3 separate regions of the Homo sapiens genome follow, and regions 2 and 3 are each linked to region 1. Evidence: promoter capture Hi-C in human tissues and cell types (Jung and others, 2019). All regions are on one chromosome and are shown on one strand. The core of a region is centred on a gene start or on the middle of the fragment in contact, and the rest is flanking DNA. Distances in the headings are between cores, read along the strand shown. Region 1 holds the start of KLHL7 (kelch like family member 7). Region 2 has its middle 9.9 kb from the start of STEAP1B-AS1. Region 3 holds the start of STEAP1B (STEAP family member 1B).

Region 1 (4,333 bases), core at 1,534-4,033:
CTTGAATGGGTGAAGAGTTGCTTCTTATGGCTGAGCAAAGAAAGTGGTTGTTTGAAAAGGAATCTATTCATGGTGAAGACTCTGTAAATATTGTTGAAATGACAACAAAGGATGTGGAATAGTGCATAAACTTAGTTGACCAAGCAGAGACAAGGTTTGAGAGAATTGACTCCAATTTTGAAAGAAGTTCTACTATGGGTAAAATGCTATCAAACAGCATTGCATGATATGGAGAAATCCTTTGTGAAAGGGAGTCAATCAATGCAGCAAACTTCATTGTTGTCTTATTTTAAGAAATTGCCATAGCCATTCCCAACATTCAGAAACTACCATTCTGATCAGTCAGCAACCTGACCCTGATCAGTCAGCACCTATCAACATTGAGGCAAGACCTTCCACAAGCAAAATGACTGTGAATCTAGTGGGCATGGTGATGTGGGCCTGTAGTCCCAGCTCCTCAGGAGGCTGAAGCAGGAGGACTGCTTGACCCCGGGAGTTTGAGGCTGTAGTGTAGTATGATCACATCTGTGAATAAGCCACTGTACTCAATCCTGGAGAACACAGCAAGACTCCATCTCTTAAAAAAAAAGAAATAAAAATAAAAATAAATTTAAAACTTGCAACTTGCAAAGGCTTAGATGATCATTAGCAACTTTTTGGCAACAAAGCACTTTTTAAGGTATGTGCATTGCTTTTGCAGACATAATATTATTGCACACTTAATAGACCACAGTATAGTGTAAACATAACTTGCATATGTTTTGGGAAACCAAAAAATTTGTGTGATTCACTTTACTGCGATATTTACTTTATGTGGTGGTCTGGAACAGAACCCAAAATATCTCTGAAGTATGTGTGTATTATTAACTCAGTAAAGTAATTTTAAGTGTCTTGTGCTGGCACCCCTCTAAGCATTTTTATAAACCTTACGCCAGTTCCATGTAGTAGGTTCTACTTTCACAGATAAGGAGACTGAGGCATAACAGAAGTTAATCAATTTGCCCAAAGTTGCACAACTAGAAAGTTGAGATGTTTGACTTTGCATCCAGGCAAAGTCTCATGCTTAATCCCTGTACTATATAATCTCTGTGGCCTCTTTGAGCTCTGAATCCTATGGCTCTTCCATGAACTTTGATGTTTTATATTCAGCAATATGTAAAAAGACTGTTCTAACATCAAGGACTAAGGATGCTGTTCCTCGTTTCTTTTTTGCCTTATTACAGGACAGCATTCTTTTTCATCACTTACATTTCTGCCTTTGAATCACGGATCCTTCATCTCCCAAGGCCTTAGAGTTAGAAGACAGATTTCTACTTCTTTTCAATTAAAAAAAAAAGAAAAAAATTTATTCCGTTTTTCTTCAGTGTCCTGGGTCATTTAATAAAGTGAATGAAAAATTTTCTCATTTATAATTTTATTAACAATAAATTATTCCTATTGCCAGGGTTCACCTGAAATCCCCAAATCAACTAGTTAAAATAGAGGCACATCTGAGAACCTCTAGATTAATAGAAGAAAGATAAAGAGTACAGAGACATAAGTATCTTACTCTTTTGTAAAAATTGAGGCGTATATATAGCTTGCTCTTTCATCTGGATTATGCTATATGGTTTGTCCTCAACAAGAAAAGTATACTGTGGGCCAGGCCTGGCCGCTCATTCCTGTAATCCCAGCACTTTGGGAGGCCTAGGCGGGAGGATTGCATAACACCAGGAGTTCGAGACAAGCCTGGGCAACATAGTGTGACCTCTTCACCACCACCACCACCACCACCACCACCACCAAAAAAATTTAAAAATTAAAACTTAGCCCAGAGTGGTGTTGCACGCCTGTAGTTTCAGCTACTTGGGAGGCTGAGATGGGAGGATTGCTTGAGCCCAGGAGTGCTGAGGCTTCAGTGAGCTATGATTAGCCACTGCACCGCACCCCCAGCCTGGGCGACAGGGCCGAGACCCTGCCTCCAAAAAAAAAAAAAAAAGCCTCAATGGTGTAAATTATTTTACATAAAATGTCTCTGTATAGTCCTATATAGACCGAGGAGGAAAACCAATGAGATATAAAGTTTTCATAATGTTAAATAATGTACAATTTCAAATAATCCTGTATATTACTATACAGTAGAAAGAATATGGTTACAAAAAACATTTCCATGAGGGCTGTGATTGAGTTCCGTGTTCCCGTAAAACACTTAGAGAAGCCTAACTGAAGATTTCTAGAACCGACTGACAACTGATTTCAGTTGTAAACACACAGTAAGCCAGCCTAGTTAGGCAGACATTCATTGCACGCCAAGGAGACACCAACGGGACTGTGTGCTCTTGCGTTATGAATCCCACGAAAATAAATCTTGTGCTCCGTGTAACATGACTTTAACTTGCAGTAATATCCTTTCATCATTTAATATTTATTGAGCGCCTACCATACACCAGGCTCAGATACTGCACTGAACACCGACCCTGTCCCATGAAGCCTTACACTGATGGGAGACACCTTTGCATGTTCCACAACCCAATTATCAAAAAAAAAAAAAAAAAAAAGATAATCACGTAACCGAAACCTGGAAATCTGCCTTGGGCACACAAAAGAGCAGGCGCGACCTCGGACCAGCTCCGAGGCAAAATTCACTCAGCGCGGGACAGCGACAGGGAATCCGGCCGCACCTGTGCCTGCAGTCTCATTGCTCGGAACGGCGCGCCACTGTGACGTGTCAGGCCCCGCCCCTGACTCTCCTCATAGTGCCCCCGCCTCCTTGCGCGAAGTGCGCAGGCTCCTGGGCAGGGCTCGGGTTCTGCCCGGGGACGCAGCCCAGTTGGTAGCGTCGCTCCCTGAGCGTTTCTAAGGGGGCCGCCCGGCCTTGTCTTTCGGCAGTGGCCGAGCCACCGCCGCCTGCCGCGCGTTCCAGAGCTGGGCGCTGCAGCTGCACTGCCGATCGCCGTGTTTGGTCGATAGAATCCCCAGTGTGCCCAGAGAGTGCGACCCCTCGCCCGGCCCGGCGAGCCCCGGGCGTGAACCGAGCTGAGGGAGGATGGCAGCCTCTGGGGTGGAGAAGAGCAGCAAGAAGAAGACCGAGAAGAAACTTGCTGCTCGGGAAGAAGCTAAATTGTTGGCGGGTTTCATGGGCGTCATGAATAACATGCGGAAACAGGTACCGCCTCTGTGGGAGTGACGGACGACGGTGGGAGGTGGTCCGGGGCTCGGGCCCCTGGTTCCCGGGGTGGAACCCCGCGCCCTGTGGATCGCGCCCCTCTTTCTCTGTCCTCGCCCCTCCTTCCGTTTTCGCAGGCGAGCGATTCCGCAGTTGGTAGAGGGGCGCGTAAAACAATTCTCGAGCAAAAGTGCTTCTCGTCTGCCGAGGATGTAGCTCCCAAGTCAGACTCCTGGGGGACTCCTCAGGCTGGCTTTCGCCGTCGGGTATCGGTTGTGTAACAGCTCTGCCCTAGTTATCTCTTTGTGGGGCGAGGATCCTTCCATTGGCGAGCCGTTTTAAGGTGCCGTGAGATCTTGTGTGAAGAAACCCGTTGGCATAGCCCAAACCGAAGCCCCCAAAGGGAGGAGAGTTGCTGGCCTGACATCAGCTGCTCTTAAATAAGGATCCCCGCCCCCTCCTGTGTTCCCCGGTGGAGCTAGTTGAAGAGGAGTCCTCCTGTTCGTGCTAATTTAGAGCAGAAGCAGCCATCGATAAATACCATGCCATCTTCTAAGGGCACTGTGCGCCTCTGTTATTAAGAGGAGCTCTTTGTTCTGTCCTTGGTGTGTGGTGCATTCGTGAAATTCTGCAGCACATCGGCGAAAGGTGGGTTATGAAAAGAACGGATTTTAACGCTGGCGAAGGTGAAACAAAGAGGCTTTTTTTTTTTTTAATTCCATAACATCTACACCGATAAGCATAGAAAGTCACTTTTTCCTTTCTGTAAGCTTTATTTATAGATAATACACATCTAAGTAGATTTGTGGGAATGTTTGGGTTTTGTTGACTGGGATCCTGTTTCAAGGGGACAAAGCAGGATGTGAGTTATGTGTAACTGCAAAACCTAGTTTGCTTTGTCTGGTGGTTCTGCTGGGAATATGGGCAACAGTAGAGGAATTTAAGATTTTTATGAAGATATTAACTTCTGGTTTCTATAAGCAAACGCTGACTGCTGGGATTTTGTCTTTGTTCACCAGCTCCTGCTACAGTGCACCAGTGCAGTCTGTGGGAATGCTTTTAAATCTTTCCTGGCCTGGCCTTTGTGCTGAAGTACTGTGAATGCCTGAATTCGTTAATTTATGTAACTGACTTTCATGTATCTATTTTCAAATTCATGTTCCTTTCATGTAAACCTTTTTGTATCTA
Region 2 (4,193 bases), core at 105-2,604, 550 kb before region 1:
TTTTACCCCATCAGGTCCAGGGTCTAGAGAAACCCCCTTGCAGAATGCTCCCGCCACACTGCTTCAAAAGCACGAAGGGTGCTGAGTAGTCGGCGAGTGTCAGAAGGCTCTGTGGCTGCAACCTTCCTTTCAGGCCTCCCAAGGATGCTGAGCAGCTGCTACTGTAGAACAAAGTTCTAATACACAGATGAGAGGGAGTGTTCTTATTGAGAGAGAAGTGAGAATGAATACCAGCAATACCCTCAAAAACTTCTGAATGCATTGGATATTTTTATAGCCAGCGGACAGTTGTCAGTTAATTGTGGCCTCAGCCTTGCAGAGACCCATCTGGAAATATCTTTAAATGGATAAACCTCAAATTACTTTCATCATGCCAAATGCATACTTCTATAGCTCATCATATGTACATAGTGAAAGAAGAAAGCCAAGCATGAATGATAGGCTAAACACATCTCTAAAAACATCATAGTGGGGGCGTAAGCACCGAGTTCTCCAGAGGGTCCTGAAAGATGCTGTTGACAAAATACCAGAGCACAGCAGTCCTATTCTAAGTAACACAGAACAGCCTTCTCACTGAAGCAGCGATGCGGAGTCTGGAGCCTTCTACCACATCCTGCTCTCATTCAGATGGGTAGGCTGCCATCTGCAAGAGCCAGCAGATCTGGAACCAGTGCAGGGAGATGGTGGGGGATGCGGGGAGTTTCTGGTCTCAGATAATGAGAGCGTATTAGTTTGCTAGGACTGCCTAGCAACAAAGTACCACAGACCAGGTGGTTTAACCAATAGAAATTTATGGTCCCACAGTTCTAGAGGTTAGGGGTTTCAGATCAAAGTCTCTGCAGGTTTGTTTCCTTGAGGGCTGTGAGGGAGAATCTGTTCCAAGCCTCTGTCTTGGCTTCTCACGGTTTGCTAGCAATCTTTGGTGTTCCTTGGTGTAGATGCATCAGCCCTATCTGTTTTGCATGGCGTTCTCCCTGTGTGCATGGCTGTCTCCAAATTTCCCCTTTATATGAAGACACCAGTCATATCAGAGTAGGGACCCTCCCTACTCCAGTGTGACCTCATCTTAACTAATTAAATCTGCAAAGACTATTCCAAATAAGGTCACATTCTGAGGTATTGGGAATTTGGGGGAGACCCAATTCAACCTGCAACAGAGGGTCTGGATATCTTTAAATCAGTTCCTGACTTTACCTCTTCCCAAAAATAACATGGGTGCTAATGAGGTACCCATTGGGCTGGATAAATCCTGGACTCAGAGAATCATCACAGAACCCACATGTCTGACTCCAAGAGGAAATGCACCAGCATGACCAGGAATTGCCAGCAATACTCTGCTGTAAGCATGTGGGTGGCCTGGGCATGGGGTAAGCTCCTGGGTTCTGCTAGGGCTAAACATGCTGCTTCATCCCCACACTCTTCACTCTGCCCCAGGACACCCTGGATGCAGCAGGGGAAACTTAGGCAAGGCTGGCAGCAGCACCCACCCCTAAATTTTGCTTCCACGAGCTCTAAGCCAGTGTACAGGTGCAGCAACTTGGAATCCCCTGGAGAACCACCTGCAGATTCTTAGTCTTCCTCATCTCCTTTCACCACCACTCCAGACTTCCCATTTGTCTCCCTGAGTGACTGCCATGGCCCCCTAAAGTTCCCCTCATTGCCATCCTTGATCCATTATAGTTTATCCTCAACACAGTAGCCTTGGTGATTCTCTTGAACATAATAGAAATTGTGTCAGGATGGGGACCGGGTTAAGCTACTCATGGGAAGGCTAAAACATGTGGTTCACACATATCCCTCCCTAGGACTCTGATGCACTGGATTCAGGGTGGCAAACTCAGGTAAAGCTGCTCTGAATCATTCAGAGTTCATGCCGGAGTGCCAACAAGGCCACCAGACTTGGAAATGGCCCAGTGTTTCCTCTCTGGCCACATCTCCTACAGCTTTTCCCTGGGTCACTCTAATCAGTCACTCTGGTGTCCTCACTGCTCCTAGAATGAGCTATCCCCCTCCCTACCGCAGAGCCTCTACCCAGGTATCTGTGAGGCTTGCTCCCCGCTCCTTTGAGACCTTGTTTCAAGATCACCTTCTCAGTCAGGCCTACTCTCACGGCCTCATTGAAAATTGCACCTGCTCCCAATCCCCATCACTGTGCTCAGTTTTTCCCATAACATTTTTCACCTTTTAACCTGATATCCTTATTCCGTCCTTCCCTGACACTAGAATGGAAGCTTCATGAGGGTGAAGAATTTTTGTTTTGTTCTTGGATATATGCTTAGGGCTAGACCATTGCTTGGCATAGAGTACATATTCAGTTTATGTTTGTTGGACAAATAAGTTTTGAAATAGACACATTCCCGGGCCGCATCCCAGATGTGTGGCATGGAAATTGCAGCACCAAAAGTGCAGTAATCTGCATTGCTGCAAAGCCCCCACTGTGTTTCTTGGGTTCACCAAAATTTGAGAACAAAAGTTTGAGTCCGAGGGGTGATGGAGCTACCCAGCCTCAGCCCCATGTCTCTGAAAAGCACAGAGAAGGGGGAAAACGAACCAGGCAGGATGACCTCCTGAGAGCATCTGATCTTCACTACCAGTCCCAGGTCTTAGATTTCCTTAGATTCAGGATGGGTTAAGATGACCTCAACCCACATGGCTAAGCTCCCAGCTGATGGGCCCCCTGCCCCTGAGCTCCGGGTTCTAAGGGAGATAAGGTTCCCAAGCCATAGGCAGATGAGGTGGATTGACAATCGGTTTACAAGGTGGGTGTATTAGTCTGTTTTCATGCTGCTATAAAGACATATTGGAGACTGGGTAATATATAAAGAAAGGAGGTTTAACTGACGCACAGTTCACATGGCAGGAGAAGCCTAGGAAATCTATAATCATGGCAAAAGGAGAAGGAGAAGGAGAAGCAAGTACCTTCTTTACTAGGTGGCAGGAGAGAGGAGCGGGCACAGGGGAAACTGCCACTTATAAACCATCAGATCTCATGAGAACTCCCTTCACTATCATGAGAACAGCATGGGGGAAACTGCTCCCATGATCCAATCACCTCCCACCAGGTCCCTCCCTGACACATCGGGATTACAATACGAGATGGGATTTGGGTGGGAACAAACAGCCAAACCATATCAGTAAGTGAGAGGTCACAGCCAACTATTCGGTCAACTACGCAGCCATGGAATTAGGCTCACTGGATCAAATTGAGTGGGAAAATCCCCTGCTTTTAGCTATTATCTAGGACATTTAGAAAGTCTCACAGTGGTGAAGGCAAAGAACTGAAGACTGGAATGGTAGGAGAAGTCTCGTTTGAAGCCAGGGGGAGTGAGAGGAAGTACCTTGTGGCCCCTCGGCTATACTAGCACGACCTGTGTCACACCTTTAGGAAGCTGGAGACAACATCGGAATTGGATCAGCTGGATGGGGGGCCATCAGGAAAGGCTGGATGCAGACTGACTTTGCTCAGGAAGAGAAAATTTAAAGATATTTTCAGAAGCACTCCTTTTCTTTTGATTTCTTCATAACCCTAACAATATTTGACTCATCATCAGAAACTTAAATTAATTATGAGAAACTCCAAGGAAATCTTCAGATCGTATGTCCCTCTAGTCCATCACTGGCCTCCCTGGGTGTGTGTAAAGGAAGGTGCTTACTCCTGTGGGCTCTCTCAGCCCTGCCATTCTGGGAGTCTAGGATTCTGTGTCCCACCCTCCTTGGGCTCCAGGGCACCATGAGTCCATCCATCATGAGCAAGGAGCCTAGGACAGCTCCACCCTTTGACCTCACGTCAGGAAAATGTGGGACTGGACTATCCCATTCCATCTACGTCTCATGCCCCCCCGACCCTCCACTCCTAGTAGACCTCACCCTTCCTAGGGGCCTTGAGGGGCAAGGGAATATTCTGGCAAGCTTTGTTCACTGTGCAGCAAGGGCCCTTCAAATACTCTAGTGATGAAGGCTAAAGTCCTCCTGAGAAACCCAGAGAATGCTCAAGATGGTTGGATCTGAAGCTGAAACCGTCTAACCTGAAATGACAAAAGGATGTGGTGGCAGCTTATCTTCCTGTAAAGCCCTGATCTTTTTCCCTCCCTTCCCCTCCTCAGAGAAATTTAAAAAGCATTCGCCAGAGCTGACTATGTCAGGCATGAGTCCATCAAACACCCCTCGTGCCAGTTATCCATTTATTGTCTCTC
Region 3 (4,614 bases), core at 1,580-4,079, 610 kb before region 1:
GCTGTAAAGGAAGCATGGCAACATCTGCTTCTGGGGAGGCCTCAGAGGGCTTATAGTCATGGTGGAAGGTGAAGTGGGAGCAGGCGTCTTACATTATTGCAGTGGTCCCCAACCTTTTTGGCACCAGGGACTGGTTTCGTGGAAGACAATTTTTCCAAGTAGGGGAAGGGGGATAGGGTTTTGAGGTGAAACTGTTCCACCTCAGATCATCAGGCAATAGTTAGATTCTCATAAGGAGCACACAACCTAGGTCCCTTGCATGTGCAGTTTGCAATAGGGTTCATGTACTTAGGAGAATCTAATGCCACCGTTCATCTGACAGGAGGTGGAGCTCAGGCAGTAATGCTCGCTGGCCTGCCACTCCCCTCCTGCTGTGCAGCCCAGTTCCTAACAGGACACTGACTGATACCAGTCTGCGGCCAGGGGGTTGGGGACCCCTGCACTAACGTGACAACAGCACCAAGGGGGGATGGTGTTAAACCATGAGAAACTGCTCCCATGGTCCGATCACCTCCCACCAGACCCCAGCTCCCGCACTGGGGGTTACATTTCAACATGAGATCTGAGGGGGAGACACAGCTCCAAACCATATCACCAACTTAATAGTTTGTGGGGTGGGGGAGGGAGGTGCTAGGAATGGAAGTGTCACCTACTATAATCAAATGTAAGAAATAATCCACTATGTTTAGAAGATCTTTTAACTTTGAGAGGTGCAGGATGGTAAGGATGCTAACAAATCCACCCACATTTATTCAGTATGAATTCAGTAACTATATTGTGAACAACAATGTAAGGCAGGAGGAATGCAAAGTTAAATGAGATAAAGCCTCTGCTCTGAAAAACCTTGAGGTCTAGGAGAGAAGGCAGGCATTTCAACTGCATGGTAGAGCGATGTATCCTAGAAGAGGATAAAGTTTTATAGGCAGATGGTGGCATGGGAAGGGAAGTAGAGGAAAAGGCTCAGCGCTGTCTTCTAGACCCAGTCCTGGGGTAGCTAGCAGGTTGGCAGTGTTTGCTGACTGATTGCCACTACAAAGAGTCTGGGTGGAAAACCAGAGTGGCCCTGGAGAGTTACCCAGCCATTTGTCTGCATGGTAAGGAGACCACACTCAAGAGCGAAGCCAAGGAAAAGCCCATGACAGTGAGGAAGCTTGTTGACTGTGTGGCCCACACTCAACTCTATGCCCATAAGCCAGGAAAATAAACTATGAGTCAAATAAATTTGTTGGTTTTCATCAGACATTAACCAAAATGTAATTTAAGTTCTACAGTAAAATCTTTTCATAAAAAGAAAAATAACAGAAAACAACCTAGTGTTAAAATGTTAGGAACCCCAGAATTCGACCCAAAGTTCTCTTTCACCCGCTTTTAAAAAAGTGGAGCACATTTCTAATGCGACTGCTGTTTTGCTGTACCAAGATGGCTGCCCTGGTGTTCCTAAATGTTGGCACAGCCCAACTGACTCATGTTTATGTCCCGCAGTTGAGAATATGAAGAAACCCAATGCCTGGAATACATTGTGGGTTGCACTGCATTTCCAACCTTTTATACTTTCAAGTGCACACTTGTTTTACATTTAACTAAGTGAAGTCGAGTTTTTTGGGTTTTTTTTTCACTGTGCTGTTTTTCTTTTTAAGCATTGCTTTCCCTCTGTGCTTAACATTCATGTTAAATGAATAACCTTTTATTACACGTCAGGATGTGGAGGGAAATGTATTTTACAAAAGTAACAAAGTAAGAAATTTGGAAGTGTACAAAAAATTTATGTCTACAAACTCCTTCCAGTGGATTTGACCAGAATTACATATTTAAAGCCTTGATTGACTATTTTGGAGGGAACCTGAACCCCACCCAGATCCTGAAAGAGTAGGGCCAGTGTTCTAAGGACTGAAAATGAAAACCTCTGTTACCAGGAAACCCGAAGACGAGAAGTAGCACGATTTTAAGTACTGTGCACCAGTCATTCGTCAATGCACAGCAAACTCTGGCGACTTTGCCACGTTAAAAAACTTGCCATCAAAATCCAACCTGAGCACAAACTTAATAATCTACCACAACCTTAAGCCCCTAGCGAAAAGGCTTCCTCTGAGTCCCTGGCTCCCCCCAGCCCCCGGCCCGGCCACAACCCAGCTGGGCTGGAAGACAGGGCGCCCCAGAGCCGCGCATAAGCGAAGAATTGAGCACCGCTCGCCCAGGAGGGCCGCCGTCCAGGTCACGAGAAGGCTTGCGACCCGCTACACCCCTCCCAAGACTGGGAGCGGGCGCCCAGCCTTGCAGGGACACGCAGGCGGACTCGAGGAGCAAACGGCCAGTGAGAACGATTCAAGGGACTCACCCACTCCTCGCCGTAGCTTGACCGTGAGTCTCAGCTGCCGCTGCTGCCGGGAGGTGCCGGCCCCACGCGGCGCCTGAGCCTCCAGAGCGCGAAGCCTCCAAGCCTGCTGCAGGCCCCGCCTCCTTGTCAGTTGCGCGTCCAGCGCCACCTGCTGGCGCCCCGCGTCCGCAGGGTTCGGGAACGTCCTTGGAGGCTAAGACTCCCCAAGTCGCACTCCGGCCTCTCCCAGTTTCCTCTCAAATGCCGTCTGCCCTGCCCTTGAGGTCCGTTTCGCGCCCTCCAACCCCTCGCCTTTTGTTTAATCTCCACTAAGGAACGTTTGTGCATTTCTCTAGAGCAGTGGTTCTCAGACTTCAGCGTGTATAAGATTACCCGGGGGCATATTAAAACACCGATTGTTGGGCTGTCCACCCACAGTTTCCGGTTCAGTATGTCTGGGATGAGGTCTGAGATTCTCATTTCTAACAAGTTCCCATGAGATATGGAAGCATTCCCAGATCACACTTTGAGATAGACCGTTTAGAGCTTACAAACCCTCCCACACGTTAGCTTATTTATTTTTATTTTATTTTATTTTTTTTTGAGACGGAGTCTCAGTCTGTTGCCCAGGCTGGAGTGCGGTGGCGCGATCTTGGCTAACTGCAACCTCCGGCCCCGGGTTCAAGCGATTCTCCTGCCTCAGCCTCCCGAGTAGCTGGGATTACAGGCGCCTGCCACTGTGCCCGGCTAATTTTTGTATTTTTAGTAGAGACGGGGGTTTCACCATCTTGGCCAGGCTGGTCCTGAACTCCTGACCTCGTGATCCACCCGCCTCGGCCTCCCAAAGTGCTGAGATTACAGGCGTGAGCCACCGCGCCCAGCCACCTTATTTAAAACCTAACAGCCGGTCCTGAAGTGGCTGTGATTGACAGTTTGAGGAATCCGAAGCTGAATTTCTGAGAGTGACTTGCTCCCTGAATTGTTCAAATTGTGTACCTTTAATCGCACAAACCCTGCTCCCCAGCCGAAAAAAAAAACCCTTAAACCCCATGTTTACTCCGTCCCTCCCTTCCTTGCCTCAGCTTTTAAGTGCAGCTTCCCATATCCTAGCTCAATGAAGTATTCCAAACCTAAAGTAAAGTTAACTGTTAATATTCCAAGGTTTTAGAAAAAGACAACTTGAGCAGGGGATTTACTTCTCTCCGTTGGAACCAGCCTCGAGATAGGGTCTGAGACATGAATTGCAAAATTCTGGGGATTTGGTATACAACATTCTCAGGACTAAGCTGAGTAGAAAACACAAAGGAAAATAAACGCGCAACCACATTTTCCATGATTGTTTTTTATTCACAGCTAGGGCACCGAAGACTGTTCATGTTTTAATATAAGCATTTTCTGTAGTCACTGACTTTCCATGGATTAGTTTAAAGCCCTTTGAAGATTAAATTACCGTGGACTGACACCTTGTGGTGGAAATAGAATCTTACACCTGTTGTTTCTAGTGAAACTAGAAAATAATTTTAAAGTTTTAGAAAAGAAATCTGTGTAATCTTTGTATGTGTAGCACAGACTACAAAGAATTAAGACTATTTAACCAAGCATTGTTGAGTTTTAAAAGTGATCATGGGTCTTAAATGGTCAGACAAAACGATATGCTTTTATTGTTTAACATTTGGTAGAACAAAGGTCATTCTCTTTTTCACAATATATTTTCCATATGAAAAGGGCAAAGAGTTATTATTGTGTTAACATAATAATATATATTGATATGAATATGGCTATATAGCAAGCTGCACTTAAAACTGCTTTTCCTTTTCTAATTAAAACATTTAAAATCAAACCCCAAATATTTTTGTTTTATAATTAGACTTTGGCAATTTTATTTCTGCACTTCTTATAAAAGTTTTTTTTGCCCAATATTTTAGTGTGGAGAATAAATAGAGTATGTTCCAAAGTGAAATGATTAAAAGTGTGAGATTTATCAATTAGTTTGTAGATATTATAAAAGCAACACAATATTCGATTAAGAAAAACATGTTACTAAAAAGCTTTTATTGAGTCGCCAGCAGTTAGTATCACAGATGAACTAGCTGCAGTTTTTGCATACAAATAACCTGTAATTTGAGGTATGAGATAAAGAAAAAAAATTTTTGTGGGGGGGGCGGGTAATACAATGCCAGAGCATCTCAGAATGCTGAGTCAGCCTCTTTAGCACATACTTTTAAAAACAAGTGTGGCTTGTGGAAAGCCACATTATGCTATTGCAAATGTTGAAAGGCAAGTTGCTAGTTTTGCTGTGA

Evidence for each region. Contacts are between HindIII fragments. The study calls those that stand out against the background at their distance.
Region 2: a fragment that was not itself captured here is called in contact with the fragment with the promoter of KLHL7 in region 1 in 1 of the 25 tissues and cell types used here (dorsolateral prefrontal cortex).
Region 3: a fragment that was not itself captured here is called in contact with the fragment with the promoter of KLHL7 in region 1 in 1 of the 25 tissues and cell types used here (lymphoblastoid cells).

The regions. Positions count from the first base shown.
Region 1 is chr7:23,103,002-23,107,334 of GRCh38, forward strand. It overlaps KLHL7 (kelch like family member 7), which reads left to right and starts at 2,784. Exons shown (of 11, transcript NM_001031710.3): 1 at 2,784-3,145. The coding sequence starts at 3,026. It overlaps KLHL7-DT (KLHL7 divergent transcript), which reads right to left and starts at 2,702. Exons shown (of 3, transcript NR_046220.1): 1 at 2,558-2,702; 2 at 1,249-1,316; 3 at 1-577. RefSeq lists enhancers at 1,972-2,958, 2,581-2,770, 2,891-3,170, 2,959-3,945, 3,651-3,730. The HindIII fragment of the contact is 7,258 bases long and covers 1-4,333 here.
Region 2 is chr7:22,551,311-22,555,503 of GRCh38, forward strand. No RefSeq gene overlaps it. Among named protein-coding and RNA genes, the nearest start is that of STEAP1B-AS1, 9.9 kb to the right of the region's middle. The HindIII fragment of the contact is 3,432 bases long and covers 1-3,070 here.
Region 3 is chr7:22,497,779-22,502,392 of GRCh38, forward strand. STEAP1B (STEAP family member 1B) reads right to left here and starts at 2,410. Exons shown (of 5, transcript NM_001382447.1): 1 at 2,336-2,410. The HindIII fragment of the contact is 6,072 bases long and covers 1-4,614 here.